3 separate regions of the Homo sapiens genome follow, and regions 2 and 3 are each linked to region 1. Evidence: promoter capture Hi-C in human tissues and cell types (Jung and others, 2019). All regions are on one chromosome and are shown on one strand. Each heading gives the region's core, a stretch centred on a gene start or on the middle of the fragment in contact. The rest is flanking DNA. Distances are from core to core; before and after follow the strand shown. Region 1 holds the start of SPATA8 (spermatogenesis associated 8). Region 2 has its middle 36 kb from the start of SPATA8-AS1. Region 3 has its middle 36 kb from the start of SPATA8.

Region 1 (2,841 bases), core at 241-2,740:
AGGAAAACAGAGAGAATGGGTGAGAAGGAGAACAGTGCTCCCTAAACGTTCTCTCTTCGTATACACAGAGGAAAGGTTATCTGGAGAACACATTTGGGTACGTGAGTGATTGTCCAAGGCCCATCCAGCCACTCTGGGGACAGCATGCATCGCTGTTGGCACAAACCCATAACCCATGCTGACCGAGAAGCTGCAGAATGATGCTGCCATTCCAAAGGGACAACAGGAGAGAAGTTGTGATCAAAGGCAAAAATAGAGACAAAGGACAGGAGCCTACCTAGGATAAGAAAGGCCAGAGTGAGCTTGGAGAGGGCAGAGGCTGAAGGAAGGGAGGAGGCTCAGTAGTGGGCAGCTGACTATGCCTTGAGCTATCACCGAAGAGACTCGTCTGGTTTACACTTCTTAAAGGAGAATACGCACCATCTCAGGAAAAGGGAGCAATGAGTAAATATGCACGAGCAGCACTTGGGAGTGAGGAAGGGGGCAGCCAAGGCACTGGAGAGGCTGAACTCTGGATCTCCTAACAAATGAATGGGGTCCTCCGTCTCATCCCTCCCACCATCCCCGGCAGCACCCATCCAGGTTCAGGAAATGGAGAAGGGAGGAAGTCAAGAAACTGGAGTGTTGGCTTTTGAGGCACAGACTCAGCCCTGCCACCTACTTACCTTCCTTTGCAGGCCACACCGGGCCCTTGAGGCCTCCTGGGCCACCCTTGAAAGGCCTCCAGCCGCAGGGACATGTCATGGCTTCTGAGAAATGTCGCGACGAGGTTCTGCAGAAGAGAACACAGGGGTGTCAGGATGTCCCCTCAGCATCAGGAGCCCACATTGAGTGAGAGCCTCATAGAGTTGGATTTTGGGAAAAGCTCATCTCCGGCTTGAGTGGGAGGTGCCTCAGGGCTGGGATCTCTTCATGCCATTTGGGGAATCTAGGGTGTTTTCAGCTCCTTTCGCCAACCCTTCCAGCCTCCCCAAGTGCACAGGGGCTGCTCCTCTTGCCCTTACCACCTGCCTCTCATGCCTGGCCCCAGCCACCGGTCTGAAGGGGCTCTGACAATTCACATTAAGAGAATTAGGAATGCTGCAATTTCATACCTGTCTTCCCACAAAGAAATGGTAGCCTAATAGGAGTCAGACCTACATCTGGAGTTGAAAACTGCCAAGGGCAGGACATCAGATACCTAGGACAAGGCAGCCTCTGAAAAGAGGGGGCAATTTCCTGGTAGAGACAGGAGTTGTCCTGGGCCCCTGACATCCCAGCCGGGGCCATTCCTCATGCCCTTCCTTCCCCGAGGCCCAGGCTGCCACTAAAGACAATTATCCCAGAAAGACACACAAGTGGATCCCTGGGCTTAGCGGAGATGGAGCAGCCTGGTCTGAACAAGATGCATGGGCTGGCCTTTTAGACGCCCCTTCTTCAGGAGAGTCCTGCACTCAGGAACTACATGGGAGAAGTGAAGTGGGTGCTCCAAAGAGCAACTGCCAGCACATGCTCGGAACCCTGTGGGCTGCCCCAGAAGCCCCAACGGACGCAACTGCCACTGGGCGGGTGGGGGAGGGGTGGCAGCTTGGGCAGCCAAGGGGCCCCGTCTCCTACAAACCTCCTGCACACCTGGGGAAGGCAGCAGCTCTGGGGTCTGCAGGGGGGCACCTCATGGTTCCCAACTCTCCTAGAAGCAAAAAGGGATTCAAAGAGGCCCACTTGATAACCTGTCAGGCTGCATAGCAGTGAGGCTTCCTCCTTTAGTAGGTTCTTGAAATTGTATATCTATATACAAATAGATAAATATACATATACAATATACAGGGTGGCTGCAGGTTTGCTACAACAAGGCAGTGGGTGAAGGTGACGGGTGTGCAGTTGTGGACTCTGGAACCCCCCAAGGGGCTCCCCTGCTGGATGCAGAGCTGGAGCCTTTGGGCGGCTGACCAAGACAAAAGGGAAGAGGGATGAGACAGAAAGCAGGGCCGCAAGGATGCAAGGCCTTGTCTACTAAGTCCTGCTGTCCCATGTAGGCCATCACCCCTGACCTATCTGAGCCTCAGTTTCTCTGAAAGGAAAATGGGTCATCAAGAGACAAATACACAAGAGGAAAGGAGAAATCATGAGGGCAAAATGTCCAGGGTGAATGGAGGGAAGGAAAAAGTTACGGAGATCAAGTAGAACCACAGACAGGAGAGAGCCTTTGGCGAGACAGGGGCAGAGAGGTAAAAGAGAGGGGAAGTGATGGGAAGCCAAGAAGAATTGGGTGGCAAGGAGGAGGAAGCTGAGAGTGGAATGGTAGAGACCTGGGGGAGGTAGAATCAGGAACCAGGGCTGAAATGCAGAAGAAACAGCTTACTGGACCAGTCAGGGTTGGCTGGGTGGACCTGGGATGTGCAAGGTATTTTCTCGTTCCAGTCAGAGGCAGGAGACAGGGAGTGAAGGGCGCCAGCTAAGGCAGGACAGGAGGAGGACAGAAAGCCCAAAGTGTCCTTCTCCTGTCCCCTCATCCTCTCTCTCTCCAGCCCTCCCAAAAGCCTTGCCCCAGAAACAAGGGAATGGAACCCAGGAAGGTGAAGTAGACGGATGGGGTCTGGGCATCCTTTCCAGAGAGAAATGATAGCTTAACAGTGATCAGCTGAATGGCCAGGAAACACCCCCATAATGGTGGAGGGCTGAGCATCCAGTACTGTAGCCTAGGGGAAGGGGACAGGCTTGAGATCTTCCCAGACTCCTCAGACTCTAGCCGAGGTCTCCTGTCCATGGAAGCTCAGGTGTGAGGGAGACTCAGAAATGGCTCCCAGGTGGAGAAGATCGGGCTGCCTCCTCTGGGGAGGTGCTTGAAGCCTTGTGGGTACA
Region 2 (2,841 bases), core at 185-2,684, 36 kb after region 1:
AAGTGTTTTGTGTCTCATCATGCACAAAAAAATTGTAACTATGAGGAGATATGTTAATTAGCTTGATTGTGGTAATCATTTCACAATGTATATGTATATCAAAATATCAGGTTTATACGTTAAATATGTACAATTTTTACTTCTTAATTATACCTCAGTAAAGCTGGAAAAATATCTTACTATCTTATATGTGACCAGTAGCAGATCAACATACAAAATACAAAATAAAAAATAAAGCATTTGTTCAAAATAATGCAGAATGTTTATCCTTACAAGAAGTGAATATTAAAAGATATTGCAGCATGTTCAAAAGATATATCTTGTTTGTATTATTGACACTGTTATGGTTGTTCGATATCATAGTAGTCTACATGATCATTTGACCACTGATTACACACTAAGGTCAGAAAGTAACCACTCAGATATTCATTCAGCTTTCCAAAGGCCCCAGGTCAAGACAAAACCAAATTGTCAATATGGGCAGAATATCAGAACCATGGCTGAACATTTGAGCAGCCCTAATGTAAATGCATGTGTGTTTGTATGTGTGTATATATGTGGCCGCAGATAGATGATAGGTAGGTTAAAAGACAAACTGCATCATCTCTTAAAGCTAGTAAGGATTTAATGTTGTCGTTTTCTTTGAACATCTTGCTTAAATGTTTAATTAGAGTTATTATGTCTAAACAAAACCCAACATCATGTACAATAATAAAACGCTAGGATCCCAGATAAACTCAGGACCCATTTAAAAATGTCCGCTCACCATTGTTGTTTAACCAGTCACATTATTTAACCAGACAGGAAAGTAATGTCTGGTCAGGGCCAAGGTAGTCAAGGGCCTGCCTGGGTAAGTCTATGTTGCGTGGTCTCTGTTTGGAAGCTGAGGGTGTTTGGTCCATTACGGCTGTCAGGACAACCCATGCTCACTAAGCTAATGGAAACCAAAGTCTCATAAAAGAAAATGTAACACTTCAACATTTTCTTCTATTTGTTTGTTTATTGTTTTAGAGTTTTTATCTTTCTATTACATAAGAAATGGAGCTTTAGGTTCACATTAAGTATGAAATATATAGAGCAAAATTCTTGCTACACCCGTTTTATAAAATAATGATCAATATTTGTACCAAATGCTTCTCTCATTTATTCCTCACAAAAAAATTACATGCAACATGAATTAGTAAGTTACATTTCATAGATAAGGAAATCAAAGCTACAATTTGCCCAACATCTCACCATAGTTAGACACAGGCCATCATACTTCAAATCTGCATCTTCCCTACTCTTCCCTGATGCCCGTTGGTCATGTTCGCACCTGTTTTCCTTGGCACAAGGTCTGCATAGCTTAATAGAGCAGTGAGGTCCCTGAAAGTCAGAGGACTTGCTGGGGTTTATGCCAGAGCAAAGTTCCATGCATTTCTCAAGACACTTGCTCGGTGCAGCACCTGACTTTATCCTAGAGCAGGGGCTATCGCTCCTGGCAGCCCAGCAACCACACTAAGCTCAGCCTCTGCACAGCCCTGGACTTCTTCCACCCTCTCTCCATTTCTGTAATTACCTCTAAATTTAACACATGGTCATTAATGATGGTGCCTATGAGAATATGATAATATTTTCCTTCCTTTATTGGATAAGTCCATCTGCCTGTCTTTCCCTACATTTTTAACAAGTGCAGCCTTAGATTAGCAAACCATGGGTTTTTTTTCCTGACCCCAGCTTCCATGCAAAGCTTCTGGCTTTCTCTATTCTAAAGTTCACTGAAGTATTTTTCTGCTTTCCTGCAGTTTTTAAGTAGATAATAAGTTCCAAAATTCACCAGCCTTTCGCTGAAAGAAGCTTGTCACGGTGGTTGGTAGCTAATGAAGGCCCCTTTAGTTTATCTTCATCAATTGTCAAATATTTGAGTCCGTGAAGTGGTGTGATGAGGTACAAAGACAGATATTTGAAGGGATTTTAACTCATTTGAGCAATTACATGCTTAACTGCCCTGCAATAATCTGTCAGTCTGAGTCTTTTCTACACAGCACAAGTGGGGAGCGTTAGAATAGCTGGATTTAGAACATAAAGGCTTAGTCTGAATGGAAGAAAGGCACCAGAGAGATTAATTGCCAGTAACAAACAGCAGGGCTGCTTGCAAGTTATATATCACATAGTTACCTACCAGCAGTGATGGGGGCCAGCTCACAGAGAGCAGCCCGGGTTGGGACAAAACAACCTCTGCACAGAATCCTGAGCACTGCCACCAATTTGCAGGGAGGTAGAGAATTCCATTTCTTAAAAGTATATACTTGCATGTAACGTACACACACATTCATACATGCAATAAAAGCATAATATTGAAAAGTAGCAGCTTTTGTGGACAAACTCATGAATTTAGAGGCTCCTTCTCAGGCTGTTCATCTAATAGTCAACTGAGATTGCTAACCCATCATCCCCACATGATAACAGTGTGATTTATTCAAGTACTACAAATTAAAATAAATAGCAATGACCAGAAAGCCAAAAATGATTTCAAAAAAGAACAAATCACTAGCTGATTTCAAAACTTACCATAAGCCACAGTCATCAAGACAGTGTCGTGTTGGTATAACTGTAGACATACAGACCAATGGAACAGAATAAAATCTCTACATAAAATAAAGAAAATAATTTCATGAACGAATTTCCAGCCTAAAAAAACAAACATCAGGGAAATGGGTTTTTGTTACTGTTGTTGCAGTTGTTACTGAATGTTGATTTATTTTTTACTACCCTTCCTGGACTCCCGTTTGCTGTGCTGCTTTTCCAGCAGGAGACATCTAAAATGATAGCATGTTCATTATATTTATAGACTATGATGTA
Region 3 (2,841 bases), core at 98-2,597, 36 kb before region 1:
AAAGGACCAATTCTAAAATTTGAATTTGCATACCAGCAAGCTAAATTTTTTACAAATCTCACCCTGAAATTCAAGTCCCTTGTTCTACCAGGGAAGCAATTAAGGTCCAATCATTTTTAATGCATCATAAATAATCTTCACACTTGCTGTTAAGTTAATTAATATAATCAGTACAACCAAATGCATCAAAATGAAGCTTATTTTGCAAACATGCAAAACGTTCTGCCTCATTGCCCAACTACCAAGATTAAATGACATTTTGCTAACAACTTTTTCCAAAGTGAGTCCAAATTTCATCTTTTAAAAGGGATCACCAGAAATAATACAACTATGTTGATATATATTCAGAATGACTAGCCAGTGGAAGTGTTGGTGATGGTGTCTCGTCCACCCCATTACACCTAAGTGCACTGAGATTCATTCAAGTTAGAGGATTTGATTTTTTTAAATACATGATAAACAACAACATCATTAAGGCATTATAATATGTCTTCATTTGTACCTCATTTTTTTCCAATAAGGATTTGAGACTGTTTACAAACACTCATCTAGCAAGAGAGATACAGATGTTCTTTGACTTATGATGGGGTTACAGACTGATAAACCCATCATAGGTTGAGAATATACTAAGAAATGAAAAGCATTTAATATAACTTGCCTACCAAACATCACAGCTTAGCGTAGCCTTCCTTAAACATGCTCAGAACACTTACATTAGCCTACAGGTGGGCAAAATAATTTAATACAAAGCCTATTTTATAATGAAGTATTGAGTATATCATGTAATTTATTGAAGACTGTACTGAAATTTAAAGCCACAATGGTTATATGGGTATTTGAAGTATGGTTTCTACTGAACACATATCGCTTTTAAACCGTCTTAAAGTCAAAAAATTCTGAGTCCAACCATCTTAAGTCGGGGACCATCTGTATAAGCAAGTCAGAAAATAAGAACAAAAGGGGTATAATCCCCACCACAGCCAGACTTACTAAACATCTGCAGAACAAACTAACACACTAGAATTTTGAGACTTAATGCTACATCTCCCAATGTGGCAGCATTTGTACCTACCTATCAGTCTTCCTAATCATTGTGACCTCCAGCCTAATTCACATGTTAGTATTTGCCAAGCTGGAAGTTCTTTCACAGGGAGATGAACAACCTGGAACATTTAGATCTCAGAAGGCATCCCCATCTTATCCATAAAAGTTCCTACCCCTTCATTATCCTCAGATTTCCTTTCTGATGGCCCAGACCCTCATATGGCCTCAACTCATGTCACCCCATCCTCATCCACTGTAAACCATTATGATTTCCTTGATATTGAGTCTTTCCCCAGGATATAGCCTATTCAGGTAACCTCACCAGATAAGTCAATAAATTACTTTATTCTTCAGTTTTATCTGCCCATCTGTGTGGTATCTGCAAATTAGTAATCAAGAAACCATTTTACAGTAATCGCAAGTGGTTCCATTTCCTCCAACTCTCAGACGTGTTGAAACACGCCCTCCAACAAGATAAATTTCCTTTCCATGGAGTAGAGGCAGAGACAGAATTTCTAAGAACAGATAGCAACATGGTGAAGAATGACGGCCTTTCTCTCCTGATACCTACATAGTAATAATAATAATGATTGTGTAGCTACCAAAAGCAACTATACCAGGAGAGGAAAATGTACTCCTATCAAAAACTCAAAAGGTGAAGTGATGAGAAGAGGTAGAAGTTTCTAGTGCAATTTGAGAAAGATGGCTGTGGTGCCTATCAATTTGGCTCCCAGAAATGCTACCAAAATATTGTATTGTATACTTTTGCAATTTTGTACTTTAGCTAAAACAGAAGAGACTGTAGACTGTGGGTATGTCTTTCCCTGTCGATTTCATTTACCTGAAAAGGGGAAAAAGATCCTTGGAAGGGATGAAAACAGGAAACAGTTCCCTGGAGTGAAATTAAGCAAGTAAACAACTGGGACTAACTCTGAAAAACCCATAGGCTCAGAGCTCCACACTTCCCTGATGAAGTGATCTGAATTATATCCAATTATATCCCAGCCCCACTTGCTAGCTGCAATAACCCTGGTACCAGAAAGTCAAAAAAATTCAGAAAGGAATACAGAGCCTAATTCTGAAAGCAAAGCCCCAGCTTTCAGCTTTACTTAAGGGACGTGGCTTTTCCTTCTCCCTGAACCTATCCTCGATTAGTCTATGGAAAACTTAGCACAGAGAAAATAAACATGAATCAGAGAAGATTAGAAGTGAGTCCAAGGGTATTCACCCATGCTATATCAGAGCAAGTAGAAATCCAGAGAGAGCCTCATTCTACCAACATGATAAAAATAAATGACATGGAAATATGCACGCATTCTACTGAAAAAAAGAGAGAGAAGAAAATGGAAACTTCCACGTAGGAGGCAAATGTAGAACCCAGTCTATAAAACAGTTGACAAAATGCACAGTAGACAATTTTCTACTACTGTTTGATGCAATAGAAAAACAACAATAATATAAATTCAATTAAACTGGAGCTCAACACTTAAATGATAAAATAACAATGAGATGTAAGGAGGGCTTCTGAGTAAAATTAACTGAAGACTAAAATTACACCATTAATAAATGAATGAATAAATTTTCAAAATGAAAGAAGAGAATGAACACTGATGAATGGCAGGCATAAAGGAAAGGTTGAGGATACTGTAATAAAGACAGAAGATACTAAAATTTTAGCAATAAGATAATAAGTATGGAAGACAAAAAAATATATAGTCTAATGTAAGTGGCTCATGCTCCGTAACATGGAAAAAAAATAAAAATAGAACAGAAAAATTATACAAGTTATAAGCCAAG

The links. Contacts are between HindIII fragments. The study calls those that stand out against the background at their distance.
Region 2: a fragment that was not itself captured here is called in contact with the fragment with the promoter of SPATA8 in region 1 in 3 of the 25 tissues and cell types used here (H1 embryonic stem cells, adrenal gland and heart right ventricle).
Region 3: a contact is called between a fragment that was not itself captured here and the fragment with the promoter of SPATA8 in region 1, in 1 of the 25 tissues and cell types used here (hippocampus).

The regions. Positions count from the first base shown.
Region 1 is chr15:96,782,084-96,784,924 of GRCh38, reverse strand. SPATA8 (spermatogenesis associated 8) reads right to left here and starts at 1,490. Exons shown (of 3, transcript NR_158223.1): 1 at 1,336-1,490; 2 at 666-772. SPATA8-AS1 (SPATA8 antisense RNA 1) reads left to right here and starts at 1,588. Exons shown (of 4, transcript NR_102753.1): 1 at 1,588-1,749. The HindIII fragment of the contact is 9,916 bases long and covers 1-2,841 here.
Region 2 is chr15:96,746,012-96,748,852 of GRCh38, reverse strand. No RefSeq gene overlaps it. Among named protein-coding and RNA genes, the nearest start is that of SPATA8-AS1, 36 kb to the left of the region's middle. The HindIII fragment of the contact is 4,057 bases long and covers 1-2,841 here.
Region 3 is chr15:96,817,713-96,820,553 of GRCh38, reverse strand. No RefSeq gene overlaps it. Among named protein-coding and RNA genes, the nearest start is that of SPATA8, 36 kb to the right of the region's middle. The HindIII fragment of the contact is 4,527 bases long and covers 1-2,841 here.